Linked DNA regions of Homo sapiens: region 1 is linked to region 2. The links are contacts of gene promoters, found by promoter capture Hi-C in blood cells and fetal thymus (Javierre and others, 2016). All regions are on one chromosome and are shown on one strand. Each heading gives the region's core, a stretch centred on a gene start or on the middle of the fragment in contact. The rest is flanking DNA. Distances are from core to core; before and after follow the strand shown.

Region 1 (6,278 bases), core at 857-3,356, 2.3 Mb before region 2:
CAGCCCCAGGCCCAGCTAAGTGGCTTTGTTGCTGCTCAGGACCCACCCCTGGCTCATCAGCCCAAATTCCAAGGGACACTGGTGGCCTCGCTGCCACCTTTGGACCCCACCCACTCTCCCAACGTCGCACTTTGTTCCTGCTCCTCCCCCGCTGGCCACACAGCCCCCTCATCACCAAAATGTTCCCACTCCTCGAGGACAATCTCAAAGGCCCCCACCTCCAAGAAGCCCACTGGACTCCTCTCTTGTGGACCCAGAGGGGCCCTGGATGCCTCAAAGCGCAAACCTCGCTCTGCCATGAGTGAACAGGCCTCAGCATGACTGCCTTGGCTCCCGGGTTTCTGGGGAAGCCCCTCGAAGGCAACGACCGGGCTTCCAACTCTTTAAGTTCCCAGAAGCACCAATCACTTGCCCTGAGCCCAGCGCAGGGTCCATGCGCTTCCTCCTGAGGGCTGGCACGGCCTCCCGAGGGTGCTCCGGGCACTGGGAGGGCTCCGCAGCCCCAGAGGCTCCGCTCACCTCACACCCCTCATCTGGATTCTAAAAGGGACCCTCATGCCTTCCGCCTTGCACCCTAGGTTATAAACTCCCCAGGGAAGGTGTGGCTTTTCCTCCCTCATCCCCTACCCTCCCAGGCCTGGCACTGACTCTGGCACCCTATGAGTGGTCCGCACCATCGTTTCTCATAAATGATGAAGTTTTAGGGACGTGGGTGACCATTAGATGTTGAAGTTCACAGAGGAAACAGCTGGTCTGTGATGCGGAGGTGGCCCCAGCCGTGAGAGAGGGCACTGTTCACCTGGCCCACCCACTAAGTGCCCACCTTCCAGGTGGGGTCCGTGCCTCCCCCATCTGGCTAGCAGTGTCAGTAGCCTGGCAGCCTGGCTGTCCTCTGCAGCCCCCACACTCAGGTGTCTGTGACCCTGGCCCAGAGGAGCTGGTTCTGGCCCCACACAAGGTTCGGTTGGTGCTAGGATGAGTGGCTGGGTGTGGCTGCCACAGTCCCCCGCCTTTGACCTCCAACCTGCCCACAGCAGAGCTTCCCTGGGGAAGTGAGCTGGCCTGAGGCTTCCACACTTGCAGCTCCAGAGAGCACCCCTCTCCACTCTGCCAGGGCCCTGGAGCAACTCCGACAGGCTGAGTGGGAAGACCCCTGACACGGAGGGAGGGGCAGCCTGGAGCCCAGCCCCACGGAGGGCCTGGCTGCTGCTCACACTCCAGACTCAGCCAGAAAGCTTGGGCCTCGGTCCCCCTCCTCCCTCTCGAATGTACCCAGGTACATCTGCCCTCATCTCCCGGGGCCCCAGGCAATGAAACTTCCCACTTCTGCATCACACAGAGGTCAGGCTCTGGGCTCAGCTTCTGCAGAGATGGTGACTACTAAGTTTAGTCCAAGCCAACTCATGGGGTCCTCTCATCAGAGAGAGACACGAGGGAGCACCTGGGCCCCACCAGCCCTCCGTGGGTCTGGCCTCCACGTTCCTGCCTGTAGTGAAGGCTGCGGTCACAGACATGGGTACTTCCATAGAAGACGGGGCTGAACCACCCAAGCCCAGAAAGGGGCCGTGCACACGGGCAGAAGGGATGGGTCACAGGGCCAGTGGCTTCCCCAGCTCTGTTCCTGGTGTTTCTTAGTAGCTACCTCTGTTCAGGAGGCCAGAGATCAGGATCAGAAACCCAATGGCCTTCAAGGGGCAGGTAAGAACATCCCTGGGTGGTGTGGGGAGGCCAGGTGGGGGCGAGAGTTGGGACTCCCCATGTCCTGCCTGCAGGGATGGCTACTTCTGAGTTCCAGCCCACTGGGGCCAAGCACAAGGGGTGCCCACAGTGCCTAGTTCTTCCCACTTTCCTAAAGAAGAAATTCATATTTTTATGTAAACATTTTCTGATTTTTAAATATTGGTAAGAAATTCAATTTAAAAACATTTTTTTTAAATGGTGTGGACCAGGAAGAAAACAAAAATATGTCCTCTGGGCACCAATGTGGTCCAGCCAGGAGTCAGGGAGTCATCTGAGAAGAAATTCCTGTCACAGTTTATTTTCATTTCATGTTATTGTGGCTCTGACGGGGTGGGACAGAGGTCAGGGTGGCCAGTCCCCAGGGTGGTCATCCTGAAGCAGCCTTCTTCCTGTATGACTGTCTAGCTATTGCCCAAAGTGAAGTGTGTGTATGTTCACACCAATTTTATACATACATACACTTGCAACTTGTGTGTGTGTGTGTTTGCTTACATAGAATCTGATCCTGAAAGTTGAAAACCTTAGGCTTGAATGTGACTTTGGAGGAGACAAAGAGAATGGCAACCTTGGCTGGAGTGTAGCCACCCAGCACCCTCTGCTCAGGAAGCTGATCCTGAGCTCTGGCCAAGAGCCGGGGTCTTCCAGGGACTACCTCAGTTCTGCCCCAGGGCACAGCTGCTCTCACTGTGTCCCCTATCTTATCTCCATCCCTCTTTTCCTCTCCCACCTTCATTCCAAGCCCTCCTTCCCCAGGGGCCCTAGAGGCGGAGCAAGTCCATACTGAAAAGATGTGGCTCACTCAAGGACAGGTGTGCAGACAATGGTTTAAGGTCCCAACTCACTCCGGCCTAAAATTTTCAATGTTCAGGAACCTGTTCTCTTTGCCAGAGTTAAACATAATTAAGATTTCAAAGCGTATCTTTCCTGACATTTTCTTCTATAAATTTACGTTCATAAATATGCAGGTTTGGGAAATAAATAGACCATACTACTCCTCTCGTTTCATCTACAGCTTCACGGACTGTAAAAAGTATCGTTATTTTAAGAACCACTAAGAAAGAAAAAAAATGATACTGATTATAATTGTGAAGTGCTACCAATTTTAAGACACGTCCCCATATAGCCACATTAAATATGAAAGAAACAGATGAAATGCACCACGGGGCAGTTCTCCAGCTTGCTTTTCTGGTACGGCTGTCTGTCTTGGAGAGTTTCCATGTCAGCCCAGATAAGCTTCCTCATTCTGTTTAATAGCTGCTTGGATTCCACTTTTTGGATAGACCAAAATAGGATGGACATTTAAGTTGTTTCCAACTTTTCTGCTATTACCTACAATTCTGCAACACACACACACACACATATATATCTTTGTGTCTCGCAAGTGTTTCTGTAGGACAGCTTCTGTGTTAGCCTGTACGCCTGTTACATTTTAACACAATTGCCAAGATGGCAGCCCCAAGTGTCCAACTTCTACATTCATCCACAGCGGAGGTCTCTAACTCCCCCAGGACACAGATGGATATCAGTCTGTGGCCTGTTAGGAACTGGGCCACACAGCAGGAGGTGAGTGGCAGGTGAGCAGGCATTATCGCCTGAGCGCCGCCCCCCGTCAGATCAGCAGCGGCATTAGATTCTTACAGGACCGTGAGCCCTATTGTGAACTGCGCATGCCAGGGATCTAGGTTGCGTGCTCCTTAAGAGAACCTGATGCCTGGTGATCTGTCACTGTCTCCCATCACCCCCAGAGGGGCCGTCTAGTTGCAGGAACACAAGCTCAGGGCTCCCACTGATTCTACATGATGGTGAGTTGTATAATTATTTCATTATATGTTACAATGTAATCATAATAGAAATAAAGTACAAAATAAATATAATGCACTTGAATCATCCCCAAACCACCCCCCACCCCAATTCCACGGAAAAACTGTCTTCCATTAAACCAGTCCCTGGTGCCACAAAGGTTGCGGAATGCTGCCCATAATGTGCGATGGAGCCAGTTTCTCTTCTCTGGGATATTTTGCCAACCCTTTGCATTTTGGTCCATCTGATAGGTAAAATGATAATGTCATTTTAACTTGCATTTCTCTAATTTCTAGAGAGTTGAGCATCTTTTCATGATTAGTGAAACATAATTAGATATTTGTATTCTACCTGGTCATATTCTCTACTCATTTTTCGACTGTGTTCTTTTACGTATTATTTTTTATAGATAACATTTTATTACATAATTTGTAAACATTTACCTTCAATTCCTTCTGTAAAAGAATTTGTCTGCATGAGTACTGAATATATTTTGTTCGATGAACAAATGAAACAGCTTCCTATTATTTTGGCACACTGTGGAAACGTGTTATCATCTGAAATGGTCCTTCATACTTCTTCCAGGGGTCAGATGAAGATTTAAAGGGCACTTCACAGGGTCAGGTTCCCCTCCACAATTCTAGGTCAAACGAGCCCGTCTGCGCCTTATAACCCGAGGCCCATTTCCCTCTTGCTCGTGGACCAGCAGCCTTGCTAAGCACGCAGAGGCCCTGGCAGAGGCTGGACCAAGGTGTGAGTTTCACATTTAGTTCTGCTCTGGGTGCTGAGGTCACATGACAGTGTCCTCCTCCTGCAAGTAACACCCCATGTCTATGGCAATATGTGAGCCCAATAATTTTGTTTTCAAATAAACTGAAAAGCCTCAGATGTGGAGTGGACGTCATCCTGCCGGTGCCCACAGTGCCACCCGAGGGACTGTCTGCAGAGCTCGGGCAGATTCTTCCCCACTGTTGCGCAAACGGATGTTCTGCCATTGTGGCTCCTGGATGTGAGGGTACATCCGGGCAGTTTGTCAGATGTTTCTACGTGGCCAGTCGATTAGCGTTGGGAAGAAAAGTCGGGATTGTGGGTTGAAATAACTCTTTGAACCACCAGTGACCTGCCCCTGAAAGGCTGGCTTGCAAAGAGGCAAGTTAATATTTGCGGGCAGCTTCTGGTCTCTCATTTTTGGGGTTTTGGATTTCTCTGAGGTTTCAACATGAAGAGGAAAAAGACAGGTGGGCGCTCAGAACTGCTCTCCTTGCTAGAGGTTCTGTCACCAGAAATCTTTACTCTTTCCTCCTCCTGGGGCCAGTGGTACATTTGCAGGACATTTGTCCAGGGTTTGCAGGACATTTGTCCAGGGTTAGGGAATCATGTGGGGCTCTTGATGTGACTTTGTTCACAAGCCCCCACCCCCACTTCCCTCTTGCTCTTTTCTGCATAAAGCCCAGACATCACAGTTCACTCGTGAACCCTTCAGCAGGCATGTCAAAAGGCAAGGACTCTTCTTTTTAAAAATAAAACTAACCATGACGCCAATATCTGACCTAAAATATTAAGAATAATTCTTTTTTTTTTTTTTTTTTTTTTTTTGAGACGTAGTCTCTGTCTGTTGCCAGGCAAGAGTGCAGTGGCACAATCTCAGCTCACTGCAACCTCCGCCTCCCAGGTTGAAGTGATTCTCCTGCCTCAGCCTCCCGAGTGGCTGGGACTACAGGCGCCCACCACCACGCCCAGCTAATTTTTGTACTTTTAGTAGAGACAGGGTTTCACCGTGTTGGCCAAGATGGTCTCAATCTCTTGACCTCGTGATCTGCCCACCTCGGCCTCCCAAAGTGCTGGGATTACAGGTATGAGCCACCGCACCCGGCCTAAGAATAATTCTTTAGTTCCTATCATTAACTGTCACATCGCCTCATCCATGTATGTTCATGGTTGGTTTTCTGCACAAGGGGATTTTGGGGGATTTTTAACCCTTTTGCACTCCTGCCTCCAGCCAAGGCTGACCCTGACTCTCAGCTGGGGTTGTAGATGGGTCACCTCCAGAACACTAAGCTTTGCTGAACAACCAAATGCTAAACTAGCTTATTTAGCCTGCCTGTTTTTAGAGGCACAAACTATTAAAAGCACACTAAGAAATTCAGCCACACCATTCTTCTCTTACCCTAAGCCCCTTTATCACCCTCTGAATGGTCCCAGGAGCTTAGGAGGAGGTAGTAGGGGAGGCAGCCAGGGAAAGGGGTCCTTACCTGAGGTCGTGGTTGTCTCGTTGCTGTCGGCAGTGGTCTCGTTGCCCCTGAGAGCCCTGGCGAGCGGCAAGCTAAAACCCACCAGCAGGAGTGGACACAAGGGCTCCATGGTGGACCTGCAGAGAGGCAGGGACAGGCTCAGAGGTCATCCAGCAGCAGCTGTGGGACCCTCCGGTGCCAGGCAGTGATGATGAGGAGAAGAGCCAACTTCATTTCAGGGCTTTCTCTGAGCCAAGAACTTTGCCTGTCACTTTCACGGATCATCTCACTGAGGCTTCTCAACACCAGGGGGATACAGTCACTGACTGTGGACATTCACTCAAAGGAGGGAACCAGGACTCAAAGGACCTGCTTGGTTGATGGTTAGTGGGGGCAGATCAGGGACTGGAACCCAGGGTGATCTCATCCCAGACCCCTGCCCTCCCTGGAACCACTTAGCAGAAATCACATCTGGGTGACCTAGCCTGGCATCCTGGACCCTCTACC
Region 2 (5,446 bases), core at 131-2,630:
ATGTTACTAACAGCACTTAATAAATTTGAGCATAAATGGTAACATTTACTTAGTTCTTTTACACCAACTTCAAAGAAAAAAGATGAGTCAAGGAGTATGATGGTTATGGTTATCAGCTAGAAAATGGACCACCCACATCTCTTTTAAAATGTATTCATGTAAAGTGGAGAAGCAGAAACCAAGGAGACTCAATGGTATCATGTTAACTAGATGCAAACTTTAGTAAAGCCTATTTTCAGTATTAAAGATGTATTTTAATTCTTTTTTTTTTTTTTTTTGAGACGCAGTCTTGCTTTGTCGCCCAGGCTAGGGTGCAGTGGAGCAATCATGGCTCACTGCAACCTCGGCTTCTGGGGTTTACGCCATTCTCCTGCCTCAGCCTCCCTAGTAGCTGGAATTACAGGCGTGCACTACCACGTCCGGCTAATTTTTGTATTTTTAGTAGAGACAGGGTTTTGCCATGTTGGCCAGGCTGGTCTCGAACTCCCCGACCTCAGGTGATCCACCCACCTCGGCCTCCCAAAGTGCTAGGATTACAGGCGTGAGCCACCGCGCCCGGCCAAAGATGTATTTTAATTTTAATAACACATCATTCATAAAATAGTCTGGTAGAACATTTGGGCTTTTTGTTTTAATGCAAATATTTAGTAATCGATGCATCGGTTCATGCATGCATGCATGGTTCAAATACTCTTGAGTCTCTAACTTCATAGAAAGGCATTGGGGGTTCGTTCCTCACAGCCTGCACTTGCACACTCCCAAAGCAAGTTCGGCGTCTGGGTTCAATATTCTAACCTTTCACGCAGTACCTCTTCTGCATGGCAAACATTTTACACCCTTTGTGAATTAGTTCGGTCTCATTCTCGGCGAGTCACTACCTGGCACCGTTTCTTCCCTCCTGCTTTGCACGACTGTGCCACGTTTTGGAACGACATATTTACATGTACCCTCCTTGAGAGGAAAGATCGTATCTAATTCACCTGTCGGCTACCAGAACTGCTTTTAATACGAATACCTGCCGACTGGAGCATGGACTTCAACTCCCTGTTTTGGGGGTGTCAGGGAAACATGGAGAAGCCTCCAGAATCTGCCGGGAACCGTGGCATCCCTCCCCGGTGGAGCGGGTCCTCCGCTCCCACATCCCTGGCAGGTCCCCCTCCGCGGAGGACTCACCTGTGCAGAAGATTCCTCGGATTCTCCCTGGGACAGGAGGCTGAGCCCTCCTCGAGCGGCGGCCCCGGCCGGCGGACCCTCGGCTCCGGCCTCCTTGGCATCCCCCATCACTTCGATCCAGGGCAGGCGATACGACGGGGGAGCGGAGGAGCAGCAGCAGCAACGCAGGCCCAAAGCAGGGTAAGCGCCAGAGACGCTCCGCGGACCGCACTTCCGGTCTCTGCCAGGAAGAAGTAGCTGTGACTCGCCATTAAATCTCGCGATCTTTGTCCCGAAGGCCCGGCCCCGCCTCCCGCTGCGGGTGCCACCTTCGCGGCCAGGGCGGGAATTGTAGTGCGCCTGCGCTTGTCCGAACCTCTTCGGGAGACTACTTCTCGCGGTATCTGACTCCTAGGCTCCGCCCTCTGCACGCCGCTCACGGTATCTGACGCTCAGGCTCCGCCCCCTGCATGTCTTTGTTGGCAAACAGTTCTGGGGGTCGTCCGATCCTGCAGGTAGTGTCCGCGTGGGAGGGGAGGTGCAGCCGTCAGCGCTGCCGGCGGCTCCCGTTACGTGAATTAGTGAGAGGTTCAAACTTCTTCCCCAGGCTTCAGTGTCACATCTTTTCACACGGGCACCCCGAGGGCCCGGACTGGAAAGGCGAGCCAGCCATCTCGAGACTGGGCGCTCCTGCCCGCCTTTTAGTGCCCATGTGGCCCCATCCTGGGTGTGGGAGCGGCGGGGCTTCCGGGGAGGGCGCTGGGACGCGCGGACGAGGCCCTCCCCGTTTAGGGAATGGGTGGCTTTCGGAGTCTTCTGGGGGCCCGGCATGCCCGCTGCTTGCGGGGCGTCCCAGGTGGTGCAGGACCCGTGAGACGCTGAACCTGGGGCCTCGTAACGCCTAGGTTTCCATTCGGGCGCTCTGGATGGGTCCGAGACTCGGCATTTCTCACAGGTTCCCAGGAAACGATGCCAGCGCTTTGAGTAGCGAAGAGGTGGAGAAATAGCCCGGGCCGTTTGCAAGCTTTGAAGGTCCAGGCTCTCTTTCACACTCCTCAGTGTCATCTCAAACTGTCAAACGCAGCCACATCCGTTATACAATACATGTTTTGTAGTAAAAGTGTTTTGTTGTGCCGTAAGATACAGAAAGTGTTTTTAAAAATTAACTTGGCTCTTGCAATTTGGCTGTCTCAATTTGTAATTCACGTTTGGCTCTTACAACTCACTGTCCTGTCCGTTTTCAGGAATGCTCCTGATGAGTAAGCATTCAACTCACAAATTGCTTTCAAATGTAACAAAACAATTTTATGAATTAAATTTAACAGGCCGGGCGCGGTGGCTCACGCCTTTAATCCCTGCACTTTGGGAGGCCGAGGTGGGCAGATTGCCTGAGGTCAGGAGATCGAGACCAGCCTGACGAACAGGGTGAAACCCCATCTCTACTAAAAATACAAAAATTAGCCAGATGTGGTGGTGGGCGCCTGTAATCCCAGCTACTAGGGAGGCTGAGGCAGGAGAATCGCTTGAACCTGGGAGGCAGAGGTTGCAGTGAGCAGAGATGGCAACACTGCGCTCCAGCCTGGGCGATAGTGAGACTCTGTCTTAAAAAAATAATAATAGTGAATTAAATTTAACAGTTAATTTGATATAATAGTGTATTTTGTAGACATTTACTTCAACATGTATTGATTTTGATTTTTATCATTTCATTTGAATATTGCAGCCAATAATTCTTTTTTGGTTTTTGCAAGTTATGCATTGTTTTTTATGGTGAAAAGTTGAACATAATATCTAACACTAGGAGGAGGATAGTCAAATTTGGTTTTGGTAGAAAATAAACCCTGTGCAACCATAAACTTGTTTTTCAGGAATATTTAAGAACATTTAAATTGCATATCATATAATGTTAAGTGATAAGTGAAATTTTAAAAAGCCAATATGCAGCCTAGCGCGGTGGCTCACGCCTGTAATCCCAGCACTTTGGGAGGCAGATGCGGGTGGATCACGAGGTCAGGAGATCGAGACCATCCTGGCTAACACGGTGAAACCCCGTCTCTACTAAAAATACAAAAACAAAATTAGCCAGGTTTGGTGGCAGGCACCTGTAGTCCCAGCTACTCAGGAGCCTGAGGCGGGAGAATGGTGTGAACCCAGGAGACGGAGCTGGCAGTGAGCCGAGATTGCACCACTGCACTCCAGCCTGGGCAGCAGAGCGAGACTCCGTATAAAAAAAAAAAAGCCAATGTGCAATATGATCTTAATTTTAAAAACGTCTCCATTTCTGTCTCTGTGTCCACAAAACAGACCTCTGAGCCGTAAAATGAAGTGATTTAAAATTTATTCTTTACATTTATTGATTTGCATATATTGAACTAGCCTTGCATCCCAGGGATGAAGCCCACTTGATCATGGTGGATAAGCTTTTTGATGTGCTGCTGGATTCGGTTTGCCAGTATTTTATTGAGGATTTTTGCATCAATGTTCATCAAGGATATTGGTCTAAAATTCTCTTTTTTGGTTGTGCCTCTGCCCGGCTCTGGTATCAGGATGATGCTGGCCTCATAAAATGAGTTGGGAGGATTCCCTCTTTTTCTATTGATTGGAATAGTTTCAGAAGGAATGGTACCAGTTCTTCCTTGTACCTCTGGTAGAATTCGGCTGTGAATCCATCTGGTCCTGGACTCTTTTTGGTTGGTAAGCTATTGATTATTGCCACAATTTCAGAGCCTGTTATAGGTCTATTCAGAGATTCAACTTCTTCCTAGTTTAGTCTTGGGAGGGTGTATGTGTCGAGGAATTTATCCATTTCTTCTAGATTTTCTAGTTTATTTGCATAGAGGTGTTTGTAGTATTCTCTGATGGTAGTTTGTATTTCTGTGGGATCGGTGGTGATATCCCCTTTATCATTTTTTATTGCATCTATTTGATTCTTCTCTCTTTTCTTCTTTATTAGTCTTGCTAGCAGTCTATCAGTTTTGTTGGTCCTTTCAAAAAACCAGCTCCTGGATTCATTAATTTTTTGAAGGGTTTTTTGTGTCTCTATTTCCTTCTGTTCTGCTCTGATTTTAGTTATTTAAACAGAACCAAAGACAAAAACCACATGATTATCTCAATAGATGCAGAAAAGTCCTTTGACAAAATTCAACAACTCTTCATGCTAAAAACTCTCAATAAATTAGGTATTGATGGGCTGTATCTCAAAATAATAAGAGCTATCTATGACAAACCCACAGCCAATATCATACTGAATGGGCAAAAACTGGAAGCATTCCCTTTGAAAACTGGCACAAGACAGGGATGCCCTCTCTCACCACTCCTATTCAACATAGTGTTGGAAGTTCTGGCCAGGGCAATTAGTCAGGAGAAGGAAATAAAGGGTATTTAATTAGGAAAAGAGGAAGTCAAATTGTCCCTGTTTGCAGATGACATGATTGTATATCTAGAAAACCCCATTGTCTCAGCCCCAAATCTCCTTAAGCTGATAAGCAACTTCAGCAAAGTCTCAGGATACAAAATCAATGTACAAAAATCACAAGCATTCTTGTACACCAATAACAGACAAATAGAGAGCCAAATCATGAGTGAACTCCCATTCACAATTGCTTCAAAGAGAATAAAATACCTAGGAATCCAACTTACAAGGGACGTGAAGGACCTCTTCAAGGAGAACTACAAACCACTGCTCAATGAAATAAAAGAGGATACAAAGAAATGGAAGAACATTCCATGCTCATGGGTAGGAAGAATCAATATCGTGAAAATGGCCATACTGCCCAAGGTAATTTACAGATTCAATGCCATCCCCATCAAGCTACCAATGACTTTCTTCACAGAATTGGAAAAAACTACTTTGAAGTTCATATGGAACCAAAAAAGAGCCCGCATTGCCAAGTCAATCCTAAGCCAAAAGAACAAAGCCGGAGGCATCACACTTCCTGACTTCAAACTATATTACAAGGTTACAGTAACCAAAACAGCATGGTGGTACCAAAATAGAGATATAGATCAATGGAACAGAACAGAGCCCTCAGAAATAACGCCGCATATCTACAGCTATCTGATCTTTGACAAACCTGAGAAAAACAAGCAATGGGTAAAGGATTCCCTATTTAATAAATGGTGCTGGGAAAACTGGCTAGCCATATGTAGAAAGCTGAAACTGGATCCCTGCCTTACACCTTATACAAAAATCAATTCAAGATGGATTAAAGACTTAAAACGTTAGACCTAAAACCATAAAAACCCTAGGAGAAAACCTAGGCATTACCATTCAGGACATAGGCATGGGCAAGGA

The links. The method cuts DNA at HindIII sites, captures the fragments that hold promoters and counts their contacts. A CHiCAGO score of 5 or more calls a contact.
Region 1: a contact is called between a fragment that was not itself captured here and the fragment with the promoter of EDRF1 in region 2, in 1 of 17 cell types (naive CD8 T cells). The highest score is 6.5, in naive CD8 T cells.

What each region holds. Positions count from the first base shown.
Region 1 is chr10:128,040,505-128,046,782 of GRCh38, reverse strand. PTPRE (protein tyrosine phosphatase receptor type E) reads right to left here. Exons shown (of 21, transcript NM_006504.6): 3 at 5,793-5,908. The coding sequence starts at 5,901. Among named protein-coding and RNA genes, the nearest start is that of AS-PTPRE, 19 kb to the left of the region's middle. RefSeq lists enhancers at 823-1,322, 1,323-1,824. The HindIII fragment of the contact is 1,738 bases long and covers 1,238-2,975 here.
Region 2 is chr10:125,715,643-125,721,088 of GRCh38, reverse strand. It overlaps EDRF1 (erythroid differentiation regulatory factor 1), which reads right to left and starts at 1,380. Exons shown (of 25, transcript NM_001202438.2): 1 at 1,174-1,380. The coding sequence starts at 1,281. It overlaps EDRF1-DT (EDRF1 divergent transcript), which reads left to right and starts at 1,596. Exons shown (of 5, transcript NR_033847.1): 1 at 1,596-1,667. RefSeq lists enhancers at 497-1,479, 1,595-1,674, 2,155-2,264. The HindIII fragment of the contact is 5,171 bases long and covers 1-2,178 here.